Regions from separate parts of the Homo sapiens genome. Here regions 1 and 2 are each linked to region 3. The links are contacts of gene promoters, found by promoter capture Hi-C in blood cells and fetal thymus (Javierre and others, 2016). All regions are on one chromosome and are shown on one strand. The core of a region is centred on a gene start or on the middle of the fragment in contact, and the rest is flanking DNA. Distances in the headings are between cores, read along the strand shown.

Evidence for each region. Contacts are between HindIII fragments. The CHiCAGO score rates a contact against its expected background, and 5 or more counts as called.
Region 1: a contact is called between a fragment that was not itself captured here and the fragment with the promoter of PAK1 in region 3, in 2 of 17 cell types (endothelial precursors and megakaryocytes). The highest score is 6.1, in endothelial precursors.
Region 2: a fragment that was not itself captured here is called in contact with the fragment with the promoter of PAK1 in region 3 in 3 of 17 cell types (endothelial precursors, M2 macrophages and megakaryocytes); the score reaches 6.2 in endothelial precursors.

The regions. Positions count from the first base shown.
Region 1 is chr11:77,201,809-77,205,807 of GRCh38, reverse strand. MYO7A (myosin VIIA) reads right to left here. Exons shown (of 49, transcript NM_000260.4): 37 at 3,384-3,508; 38 at 2,591-2,748; 39 at 1,579-1,732; 40 at 191-346. Among named protein-coding and RNA genes, the nearest start is that of MYO7A, 76 kb to the right of the region's middle. The HindIII fragment of the contact is 1,023 bases long and covers 2,023-3,045 here.
Region 2 is chr11:77,139,244-77,143,669 of GRCh38, reverse strand. MYO7A (myosin VIIA) reads right to left here. Exons shown (of 49, transcript NM_000260.4): 3 at 848-961. Among named protein-coding and RNA genes, the nearest start is that of MYO7A, 13 kb to the right of the region's middle. RefSeq lists an enhancer at 3,094-3,660. The HindIII fragment of the contact is 1,906 bases long and covers 2,107-4,012 here.
Region 3 is chr11:77,472,373-77,476,532 of GRCh38, reverse strand. PAK1 (p21 (RAC1) activated kinase 1) reads left to right here and starts at 2,439. Exons shown (of 15, transcript NM_002576.5): 1 at 2,439-2,981. RefSeq lists silencers at 2,205-2,564, 2,795-2,844, 2,865-3,174 and an enhancer at 2,415-3,331. The HindIII fragment of the contact is 2,576 bases long and covers 1,725-4,160 here.

The DNA of each region.
Region 1 (3,999 bases), core at 1,285-3,784, 270 kb after region 3:
AGCAGCCGGACTCTCCAGCTGCATCCTGAGCAGCTGCAGGATCCGCACCTCCGTCTAGCTGGCAGTTGAGGTACCCCAGGGGTGGGCCCAACTGCTATGTGGTCCTCATCCCCAAGGGGCTCATCCCACAAGCCCCGCGTGGCCAGGAGCCCGCCCCAGTGTCTGTCCCTGCCCCTGGTGGCCGCTGTACCTCAGGGCTTTCTGGAGCCGTTGCAGGCAGTCGATGGCGAGTGGGCAGTGCTTTCGGGACTGCAGGAAGCGCTGCACGTGGGGCAGGAGGATGTTGCTGGGTGGGAAAAGGCCCGTGCACAGCCAGAGCAGCTCCCAACCCCGCTCCTCGCTGTACCTGCAGGAGGAGGCGTGGGCTCCAGCAGGGGCAGCTGCCATCGGGAGTCACAGGACCTGTGCACCCCCGGGTGAGGGGGCCATGTACCCCTCAGCTGCTCATCACAGCAGCACCGTCCCTCCTGACCTTTACCCTATCTCAGGACCCCTCACCCTACCTACAGACCCCTCTCCCTGACAGCCAGATGCAACTAGTGCTACCCAAAGTGTGCCTGGCCCACCGCGCCAGGCCACACACTGCTACCAGTCCACGTGGAGATAAGGGGCTTATGCCACAATGAAAAGCCACCGGGTTACCATGCACTCTGCTTCAGCTGAGGCTTTTTGTTTGTTTCCATAGCAAGACTTTCTCCATGAAGGAAGCAGTGTGATTTATATTTTCGCAGAAGCTCTTTAATTCACCTCTACTTTGAGTGGCAACGAGTTAGACCAGTCCCACCCCAGGCTCCTTCAGCCACCACTCTGAGCTTCTTGGGCCTGACAGTGGGAAGTTTGGAGGGCTTCTAGGAGGAGGTGGCATTTGAACTAGGCTTTGAAGGATGAAGCAAATTACGGCATGCAGAGAAGGGGCTGAAAAGTTTTCCTGGCTGTGGGCACAGTATGTACAAAGGTTTGGCACTGTCAAAAGAGCTGATGTGTAGTTTGAGGATGGATTTGTGGAAGAGATGTAGAGGGTGACACAGCTGGGGAGGAAGGCGGGGGGCTGGGTGTAAGGAGAGAGGGTGGAGCTTCTCTCAGACTCTGAGAGGAGCCTGTGCCTGACTTTCTACTCCTGTCTTGGGCTGTCCCAGCGGGAGGAGAAGGTGGCACCCTTTGGGCATTGGGACCAACACTCAAACCCATGAGAGTTTTCAGCCAGTGCTTCCAGCTGACAGCCGGCCCAGCCTGCACCAGGGAGGGGACACTTGACTGAGCTGGACCTGCAGGCAGACAGCAGGGTCTAGGCAGGGAAGGGGCATCCAGACGAGGCTCCAGCCAAACGTTAGGAGGAGCTGGGGCTGTTACCCTTAGAGGACAGACTCAAAGGAAGACATCCACCACCTCCCAGTTCCTGCTAGGCCCTCCTTGGGCGTTGGGGCCAAGCTAGGATGTGAGGGGGCCCATGAGCAGCTCCCGGCTCTGTGTGAGGAAGGACTGCATCCAGGCAGAGCCAGCAGCTGCCTCAGGAGGGTAAGAGCTGCCCGTCACAGCAGGTGAGGTCTGCCCCTCATCCGCCCACTGTGCCTGGCTCACCTGATGTGGTTGTCGGTCAGCTGCTTCAGGATCTGCACATATGCCTCGTCCTTCAGGGGCTCGGCTTTCAGGGGACCCTCAAAGATCTGGTCGGTGAGCTCGTTGACGGAGCGTGTCCTCTTGGACGGGTAGTCGCCCATGTACTTGAGCACAGCTGGGGACTGTCAAGGAAGGGCTTGTGCCGAATAGAGGGAGCACTGGCCTGGGGTCCGGAGGCCCCACTTCCCACAGGGCCTGCATCACCTGAAGCTGTGACCCTGGGCCCTCAGGCTGCACACTCACAAAATGGGCATGATCTGCCCCACCCTCTCTCCGCCTCCTCACAGTCACCAGCCCCACATCCCAAGCCCTCACAGCAGCTGGGATGGACTTCCCAGATGGTGAATCTGACCATGCCACCCCCTGCCCAGTGGTTCACCCTGGCCTTAGGACACGGCCCAAGCTTCCTCACAGGGCTTGGGAACCCTGCCTAAGCCCAGTCTTCCCATCCTGTCTGTGCTGAAGCCCCGGAGCCCTGGAACAGCCCTGCTCTGTGTGCCTCGGGGCCTTGCTGCTGCTCCCTCTCTCTGGAACACTCCCCCTCCCTCCCCTTTGCCTGGCTAAGTCGTACTTAGCCTTCAGGGCTCAGCCTAGATACCACTTCCTCCAGGAAGTCCTCTCTGCCCCCTCCAGGTCACATGGGTCAGGTCACAGTGCTGCCGGGTCCCATCTCAACATTGATCTGGATGTGTGTATGGTCCCATGAGGCCAGGGGCTGGGCTGGTCCCTGCTCTACCTGCATGCCTGGCCCAGCACAAGGCACCAAATCCACCTGGCACCCAAATGACAGGGTCAGAGAAAACAGTGGGCGAGGCAGCCCCTTGCATATCAAAAGGTGCAAGGGAGGGGGTACTCCATCAACCCTCCCCATGTGTGCCCGGGTCGCAGCAGGCCCTCAGGAGGAAGGCAGTGTGCAGACGAAGGCCCTGCCCGGTCCCTGGCTCCCCTGGGCACAGCCCAGTGGCACGGATATCAATGAAGGCCAGGCAGGCCTCCTGCGAGAGCTCCTCACTGCCCAGGAGCTTCTTGAGCAGCGCCTGCTTGAGCGGTTCCCGCGTGTGGCTCCACAGCCGGTCCTTGCCTCGGGCCTTGGACACCATGACACGGCTCAGCGTGTGCTTGGGTGGGGGCCTGCCGCAGCACAGGGACCGTCAGCAACGCCCCATCGCTGGCAGCCCCGGGGAGAAACCCCCAGGTTGTGAGACCCCCACCCCCACCCATCCCTGTGTCCAGAGGCTGAGAGTGGGCACCAGGCCCTGCTCTTCCCTGCCCTGCATGTGACCCGAGGCGAGTCACTGGCAGTCACTGGGCCTTTCTTTCTCAGCTGTGAAACCCCAGCGGCGAGAACACCACGGGCTGTGCCCCAGCCTCCCCCACCACCCTGCGCCCCCTGTAGAGCTCAGTGCACAACGCCTCCATCAGGAAGCTTCTCACTGCCCCCCACCCCCCGCCCCAGAAGCATCCTCATCACAGTGCTGGGCACGCCGAATCCCAGCTGCCTGCTTCCAGCCCGCATCCCCACCAGGACTCAGTCTCGAATGCCCAGCCTGGGGTGGGTGCAGTGACATCTCTTGAAGGAAGGAAGATAAGATGAGACACATAGGACGGGTCATCCTGGCAGACAGAAACAGCCCTCCAGCTCCCTCTGACCCAGGCCCTGCTCACAGGTGGGGGCTTCACAAAGCAGCCCCAGCACACGACCAGACAGTAGCGGAAGCCTGCAGCTCCTAGCCCTGTGGCTCCCATCCTTCCCCAGGAGGCATCACCTGAAGTAGTCATAGGAAAACTCCTCCAGCGTGTAGGGCTTGGCACGCACCTCGGGCTCCGCCGTTCGCAGCTGCAAGAGCCGGACAACGTCCTGCCTCTGATCGGGAGTCATGGTGACCAGGGCCTAGGGACCAAGAGACAGGGGGCTCAGGTCAGCTCTCTACCTGTGGCCACCAGGATCAACATGGTATACCCTGAAGCCTTCTGGACTCTGGGAGACTCTTCAGGGGTATGGACCCCATGCCCCATTCTGACCCTGGGAGCCCCGTTCCTCCTTGGGGTCTCTGAGGTCCCTGCTGCCTCCTTTGTGCTGAGCTCAGGGCCCTTCCCCAGGTGTCTGATCAGGTTGGGTCAGTCAGAAAGCCTGGACAAGGCAGCGGGACATGGTATGAGAGCTGCCTCGTCCACTGAGCCTGGCTCAGGAGCCACTAGGGAAGCTGGGCTGTGAGTCCTCAGAGCTGCTCTCAAGGGGGCTCCAGAAGAAGCAGGGCCCCCTTCCCAGCTGTGCCCCCACTGCCTGTTCAGACAGTGCGGGTGATACACCTCTCTCCAATCCCCACCCCCGGCCCCACCCCTTGGCAGTTCCTCATCTGATGCCATTTCTAGGCCCCTCCC
Region 2 (4,426 bases), core at 1,810-4,309, 330 kb after region 3:
TCCCTGCTAAGCTGCCCCTGTGTGCTCTGCACCCCATCTGCATACCCCCAGTGACACACACATGTGCACGCATGCTCAGAGGCCCCAGGGCTTCCCCTCCGGGCCCTCACGTGAACCAGCCACCTTCTCCGGGGCAGGCCCCTGACTTCAGACCTCTCCTTCCCTCCCCAAGGCCCCACTATCATTACCTAGAAAACTTACACTTCTGGGGTCCCTTTCCTTCTGGGCCACAGATAAAGGGTTAATCTGTGAGACCAATTTCCAGAGCAGTGTCAAGGTGGACAGTGGATTCATGTGATGTCAGTAACCCAACACAGTGAGGCTGTGGACGTTCATTTAACTTTCAGACTAGCACTAACTTCACTGAGGTGTTCTGCACGTGTGATCTCATGTATGGGTCAACAGCCCTGTGAGATACGTATTATTATCCTCATTTTACAAAGAGGAAACTGAGGGTCAGGAGGGAAGGAGACTAGGCCAAGTTTGCGCAGCTAACAAATGGACGAGATAGGATTTGAATGCAGTCTGCCCCCAAAGCACCTCTGTGTCTGAGGAGCTCCTAGCCTGCTCCCCCTGCACTCAAACCCCACCACACACACACACATCTCTAACACCATGCAGAGTGGACTGAAGTGCTTGTGGAAACAGAACAAGTAGCCTGAGGCAGGCAGGGGTTCCCTCTTGTTGGGGTGCTGGGGAAAGCTCATGGAAGGGGGCATCTGAGAGGCAGAAGTGGGGGCATGGGCATGGCCTCCATCTCCTTTCGATCATCTCCCTGCATCAAGGCAGCTGTCAGCCCAGGTCTGACCCCAAGGCATGGGGCAGGAGGAGGGAGGGGACTACTCACATTGTCTTCATCATCCACCACCTGGACCTGCCCAGAGTCGCAGAGCTTCACCACCGCCCCGATGGGCACGTCGAACTCCTGCCCCAATCTCAGGTCCATCCACACATGGTCCCCCTATGGGCGAGAGAGAGTCTCAGCCCAGGTGAGCAGGGAGGGGGATTGGAGCCCCTTCCAGGCAGCCCTATATCCCTCTGCTACAATCAGAGGCTCTGAGCCAACCACACAAGGGGGAAGAGAAGGGGACTCACACTTACTAGCAACCTTCTGGAGCAGTGCAGGCCCTGGGCTGGGCATTTATGCAATCTCATCAATCCCCCCTCTAGAACAGCCATATTCCCATTTTATGGATGACTTAGCAGAGGCTCAGAGAGAGCCAAGGCCTCTCAAAGCCCAGCTCTCCCCATGGATCTACACCCTACATGTGTATGACAGATTCACTGGGGTCTAGACAGAAACACCAGACCACTCAAACCACTTCCTCTCTAACATGACACCACAGGACACCCAGACAGTGGGTGAATGCTGCAGCCTCCTTCACCTCCAGGGCTGATTTTTATCATCATTATGACAGGTTCCTCACAGGGACACCACTCCGTGCTGGGCACTAGAGAAGGGTTCAGCCACATTGTCTTCTGGCATGTGGAGAGAGCCCTGATCCTGGGGGAGGATGTCGCTTTGTGTCCCCTGCGGCATCTGGCCCAGGGCCTGACTCGCACTACTCATTCAGCAAGGGATCGTGAGAGCCAAACGTAAAATCCCAAGTCAGAGAAATGGACTAAGAACAACCACATTCAGCACTGATGGATTCAACAAACATGTATTGATTACCTACTGAGTGCAAAGCACTGATTAATCTAAATGCTGGGGGTTGAGCAGTGATTATGGAGTCTACGTTCTAGTTAGAGGTGGTGACAAAAAACTGAGCAAATAGATCAGCACGATCACTTTGGATACTGGTGAGTGCTGTCAAGGAAACAAACAAGCCAATGGTGGAGAATGACAGAGCCAACCAACCTAGACCCAGTAGCCAATGGAGCCGCTCCATGGAGGGAATCGCTGAGCTGACACCTGAAGGGTGACAAGCAGTCAGCCAAGGGAAAAGCAGGGGACAGTAATCCCAGCATAGGAAACAGCACATGCAAAGGCCCTGCGGCAGAAAGGAACAGCCAGGAGGTAGGACCTGATGGGCGAGAGGGAGCTCAGAGAAGTAGGCAGGGTCCAGGACACATAGGCCCTTTGCTGGCCTTGGGATACAAGCTTAGATTTTATTCTAATCCTAATAAAAGTATTCTTTTTTGGGTGGTACTCCAACTCCCTAGGAGTTGGGACATTCTAATAAGAATATAACTTAATATCAAGTAAAAAAAAATGTAACAACTTATAAAACTGATTCACAATGAAGTAAACCGTGGTAATGGTCTGACAGAATCTGTTCTGGGCTAGGAGTCAGAAGACTGGGTTTCAGGCCCTACCCGGCCTTGGGTGAGTCGCTGACCTCTCTGAGCCTCAATTTCCACATTTCTCAGTGAAGGCTGAACTCAGTGAGTCCAAGACCAACTCATTACTGTTTCAGCCTCCTCTTGTTCCCATCAGAACCAGCTACAGTCATGCATTGTTAATGTCAGAGATAAGTTCTATGCAAACATATGAAGTCATCGAGTGTACTTCACAAACCTAGATGGTACAGCCCACTACACACCTAGGCTGGATGGGGTAGCCTCTTGCTCCTACACTACAAACCTGTACAACCTGCTACTGTACTGAATACTATAGGCAGTCATAATCCATAGTGTGTATTTGTGTATGTAAACATATCTAAACATACACATAAAAGGTACAGTAAAATATGGCATTATAGTCTTATGGGACCACTGCCATCTATGTGCTATTTTCCAGCCACAGCTGCCCCTGTGGACCCTCTCTTCATGTGAATGGGAGGTTGGCACATGATAGAGTCAGGCTAGTCCCAAACCCAAACTTCCTCCCAGAAAAAGTAAGAAAAATTGGAGAGGCTTGGGCGTGGAAGAGAACTGTTTACTGAGCATTCACTGTGGGCCTGGGCTCCACAGGCTGCATCCCGTAAACTGCCCCATATAATCCTCACAGCTGCTTGTGTCCAAGCCCCAGCTGCACTCCCTGACCCTGGGCTTACCCCTGACAGCCACCCCACACAGGGTCTGCTCCCCTTCCCCACTGGCCTGGAGCTCCCTAGGGTGGGGCTGGGTCTGAGTCCCTCATCTGTGGCTCCCCAGAGCCCAGCCCAGAGCGGGCCTCGGTGAGAGAGAAGGGGTGGGGAGCGTGTTCGCTTGTGGGCAACAGCATGTGGCCAGGGGACTGTCTCCAATTTCTCTCCTCAAAGAGGTCAAGAAACGTGCCCAAGGTCACACAGCTGTTTTGTGGCAGAGCCAGGACTGAAGCCCAGGTCTGACAAACCCCAAATCCAGGGCTCTTTCCTGACATTCCCTGGGCCCAGTCCCACATGCAGCTCACTGAGCAAAACAGGAAACACTGATAGAGTCCTCCCCCGCCCAGATGGCTCAAGGGCCCTGAAGGCAAGCTGGAGACTTAGGCTGAGGGCAGCTGGAAGGCAGGGGTCTCTCTGAGTCACCTGTATCCCTCAACCCAGCACAGGGCCTGGCACACAGAAAATGTTTGTTTCCCCTGGGAGAAGATAAAATAACCAAAATAAAAAAAACTTCATGTGAGCAGGAAATGGAGATTCCGAGAGGCTGAGTGAAGCTCTTGGGGCCACACAGCAAACAGACATGACTACAACTCTTCTTACTTAGGGCTGTCACAGAGGGCAGTGACCAAACTATCTTGCTCTAGGCCAGACTTGAGGAAACAGTTTCAGATGGCAGGGGAGAGGCTTCAGGGAGAATTCTGGGGTCTTAGGACTTCTGAAGGGGAATATTCCTGTGGCCCTAGGGAAAGTTCTTGAAGCATCGCAAGGCAGGCAGGTTGTAAGGATCCTCATTTTACAGCCGAGGAAACTGAGGGCCAAAGAGAGAAAGGAACCTGGCCACAGTCACTCATCAAATCAGTGACTGACAGGACTATTAGCATCTGGAGGACAGAGCCAGGACCAAAATCAGGGTGGATCAGGAGTCACTGGCTCAGAGGGAGAAGGAAGGGAGGAAGGAAGCCATGAAAGAAGATGAAGCTTCATTGAGAGGCAGGAGGGAGGTGAGAATGGGGAACCAGGCTCCAGGTAGGACCCCACCACCCCCTCCCATCCCCATGGCTAGCCCCAGGCACCCCACCACTGCATCTGGCCCCATTCCTACACCATGTTCCGTGACAACTTTACACACTGTATGGGGCGCCTTGCTTGGTACTCACCTTGAATGGAAGATCTCGTTTGTGACACGACACATGCCTCAGTGTGGCTGTGTAACGTGGGGCAAGTCCCAGCTTTTCTCCTATCAAATATATGACCAGGGCAGAGGGTTTCCCAGGCCCTGCCAGCTATGCAGGCTCCCAGCCCGAGTCGTGCCTTCCTAGAATGGGTCTGTTCGAATGTTCTCAGGGGTACTCCAAAACCCCTGTGGGGCCTCCCCCCAGGAAAGCCAGCACATA
Region 3 (4,160 bases), core at 1,190-3,689:
GAGTCCCTTTCCCCAAATCCTCAATTTACTCACATCTGCAGAGTCCTTTTGTCATGGAAGGTAACATATTCATAGTTCCCAGGGATTGGAATGTGAACATTCCATTGGATGAGCCATTATTCTGCCTAGTGCAGAGATCACGAAAAGACAATCCAGATTAGAGTCAATTTACTGGGTTAGGATCCTGGGTTAAGTTACTTAACCCCTCTGTGCCTCAGTTCCCGCATCAATAAGATGGGTGAGGATAACAACAGTATCTACCGTAGAGGGTAGAGGTTTAAAGACAGTGTTTGTAAAGTGCTCAGAACAGTACCTGGCACATAGAAAGAACAATAGGAACATTTATTAAATACATTTTTTTTGAGACAGAGTTTTGCTCTTGTCACCCAGGCTGGAGTGTGGTGGTGCAATCACAGCTTCCTACAACCACCGCCTCCTGGGTTTAAGCAATTCTCCTGCCTCAGCCTCCTGAGTAGCTGGGATTACAGGTGCCTGCCACTACGCCCGGCTAATTTTTGTATTTTAGTAGAGATGGGGTTTCGCCATATTGGCCAGGCTGGTCTCAAACTTCTGACCTCAGGTGATCTGGCTGCCTTGGCCTCCCAAGTGCTGGGATTACAGGCGTGAGCCACCGCGCCTGGCCTTATTAAATATATTTTAACAACATATTGATACTTAGGTATATGTCAAGCACTGTTTTAGGTGCTGAGGATATGGAAAGGAATATGACTTGGAACTCAAGAAATTAGATACACAAATGCAGTTACTTCCATAAAAGGCATAGAAATACTATAGAATTACAGTTTTGTTAAGGCTTAGGGAAACTTTAGAAATATTAGTCAAATGAATATGAATATGAATATGAATGACATTTGAGCTCAGCTTTGTACAATGAATAGGTGTTGGCCAGTCAGCTAAGTAGGGAAGAGCTTGAAGACATGAAGAAATGTGTATTCAAATAACGTTAATATTTCAGTGTGCTTGGAGCAAAAAATAAATGATGTGAGACAAAGCTAGAAAGGCTAGTGTAAGCAGTCAGGTAATAAAGTGCCAAGTTCAGGAGTTTGAACTTTATCCTGAAAGCAATAAAATCCTTTCGGTGTTTAAACGGGAGGACATCATCAGATTTGTGCTTTTATAAGGCTACTCAGGTAACTAGTGAGAAAAATAGATTGAGTTTGAAGAGACTAAAGGTTGCTCCAGTTGTTCAGGTGGTGGTAGTAGAAGACGACACAGGCAAGGACTTGAAAAATATTTAGGAGAAGCTACAAGACTTGGTGTCCAACTTGATATGGATGTTGAGAGAGGAAGAACGGGGAGCTATTAGTATGTCTAGGTTCCTGGCTTAGGGGATTGTTGAATGGGTGGCCCATTCATTGAGAACGGAAAGGAACGTAAGAAGCAATTTTGGGGGGGAAATAATAATAATAGCCAACATTCTAAAGGGCTTGTTACTATTACCATGGTAAAACTGAGGCTTAGGAAGACCTAGTTAAGGTACTACTTATTATTACAGAAAAATTACGGCTTAGAAATGTCAAGGTCCTATCACTAATATTTGAATAGCTAGGATTTCAAGCAAGGCAACCTGATTCCGGACTCTTAGCCTTTCTAATGCTGTCTCAGTTTCGCACATGTTGAATCTGAGGTACGAAGAGTATGCAGGTAATGCTGCTCGGGAGGTATTGGGAAATACACAATCTGAGCTCAGGAGAAAGAAAGCTTTGGGTCGAAAGTACCCTCCACGGTAGGGGAAAAAACGTGAAAGGAAGCCCATTCTTTTCGTATGTCAGTTCACATTAGTTCAAACATCTCCGTTATAATTTCTTTGTCTTCCTCCCACCCCTGCCCCCTCTCCCACAGAAAGAAAACATAATACATGTCTGGCTGTGAGATCACACGACATCGGATAGTTTTCAAATTCAGCCCTTGACAACGAGCTCATAGATGCGGTGGTGCTTTGTTAACCTGAAAAGGACCCTCAGCGCCGGAAGTTAGCCGTCTTTCTCCATCCTGACTACTACAGTAGCCCTCCCAGAAATCGTCCCAAAATTGTCTGATAGAAAGGCTGCACGGAAACAACCCGCCACGGACAGCGGACCGAGAACAGTGACGCGACGCGATGACGTCACGCAGCAAGCGGGTGATTCCCCAGCCTCTGGCGTCACGCGCCGATGACGTAATCCCAGGCGTTCGCCCTCATGCGGGCCAGGGTTTGGCCTCGCTCCCACGGGTCGGTCAGGCCCTCCCCGCCCCCTCTCACCTGCGGGAGGCGGGGCGGGCACGGCTCCACCGGAGCCGCAGCCGCCGCCGCCGCGCCGGGGAGGGGGAGTGGGGGAGGGGGAGGGGGAGAAGGGGAAAGGGCAGAGGGGAGGAGGAGGCGGGAGGAGGAGGAGTAGGGGAGCCAGTGAACTAGGCGGTCAGGCCTGCCGGGCGGCGTACAATAGCGCGGCTGTGGGCGGGGGAGGCTGCCCTCCCGCGGCTGCAGCCGGAGCCGAAGGTGGTGGCTGCACAGTAGACGCCCCCTCACGGCTTCCCCCACACGCTCCCGCCCCCTCGCTCGCCCATCGCGCTTCCCTCACAGGCTCTGCAGTCCTCCCCCACAGACGCCTTCCCCCTTGGACTCTCATTCCCTTTTCCACGGAGCCCCGCGCTTTCGTGAGCCCCCTCGAGGAACCTGGTCTCCGCATCCAGTTACCACCTCCTGCCTCAGAGGCCATCTGAGCCCTTCGCACCTCGCCCCTCAGTCCCCCCTTCCCCCCCCGCCCGCGTCGCCTCGCTCCCTCCCGCCCCCCCATCATCCCTTCCCTCGCAGTTCCCCTGTCCTGAGGGGAGCCCCGCCACGGGCAGCGCGGCGGCGGCGGCAGGAGGGAGAAAGTGAAGCGGTAGCTCGCGCACACTCGCGCCCTCACTCCCGGCTAGGCGGCACCCACCGCCGGGAGGAGGAGGAGGAGCCGAGAGGAGCTGAGCGAGCGCGGAAGGTGAGAGCGGGCCTACCGCCCAGTACCCCTCGCGTCCCGGGCTGCCAGGGCTGGGGCGCGGGGGTGGGGACGGGTGGAGTGGGGGTCTGGGCCCATTTATTTCGCGTTGCGGGGCCGGGCGCCTGGGCGGGAGGAGGCGCCAGGTAAGGTGAGGCGGGCGGCGCCCCGCGAGGCCCGCTCCCGTCGGGCCAACAAAGGCCCCCTGTGCGCGTACCGGCGGGGTCGCGGGTCTCAGACGCCGGGCGATTCGAGAGACCTGGGAGAGGGAAGGGGCGGGGCGGGGCCAGGCCAGGCTGGAGCCGGGAGGCCACACGAGTACCGGTCCGGGACCGAGTCCGTCCCGAACTTCGCAGTCCTGCGGCGCTCACCCTGTCCCGCTACGAGGAGGCACAGCAAAGCGGCGCCCAGTTCCTTCTGCATGGAATAAATGACCCCTTCCAGGCTTGGACAGTCACCTTTAGGGTTCTACTCCCTGAAAAATAAGGGCTGGTAGGACTTGACTTACGCAGCCCCTCCCCCACCCCGGAATATTCTGTAACTTGGGAAGTGAAAAACAACCGGGGAAGGAGATTTATAGTTATTTTATGTTCATTATTACGTTTGAAAAGACATGATTGTTGTAGCCTTCGCTATCCTATTTCAGCAGTACACATTACTGGGAGTGTTTTGGAAGAATACTTGAGAAGTAGTGGGTGTGGCGTTGTGAGCAACGTCCTTGGTTTTTAAACCCCTTGGATAATTGTTCTACTGTTACAAAAACTGTGAACAGTGAAGGGAAGGGTTAGTTCCGTGGTTACTAATAAAAATTCAGATTCATTAGTCTTGACTTTAAGAATTGTTCCTGAGAACAATCTTTAATTTTGCCTCCTACATTTTTGGGTTCTCTTTCAACTCTGTCAGGAGAAAGTAGGAATTATCAGTACAGATACCTCATCTCTCTTACCCTGTGGCTTCATCTACTTCTTGTGTGACCTTGAGCAGGTCACTTCCAGCCTTAAAAGCTCCAGAAGTTTGGTTTTATGCCCCAAAACGGGCAAGTAGCAAGCACCGGACTCAGCTTTCAAGAGTCCACTGAAGAATTCCCACACTGTGAAGTCTTTGCTGGCCTCCATCCTGTCTCTCCTCTTACAGACAGAGCTGATTTCTTCCCATTGGCCCGGTGGGATTTCTACCACAGCA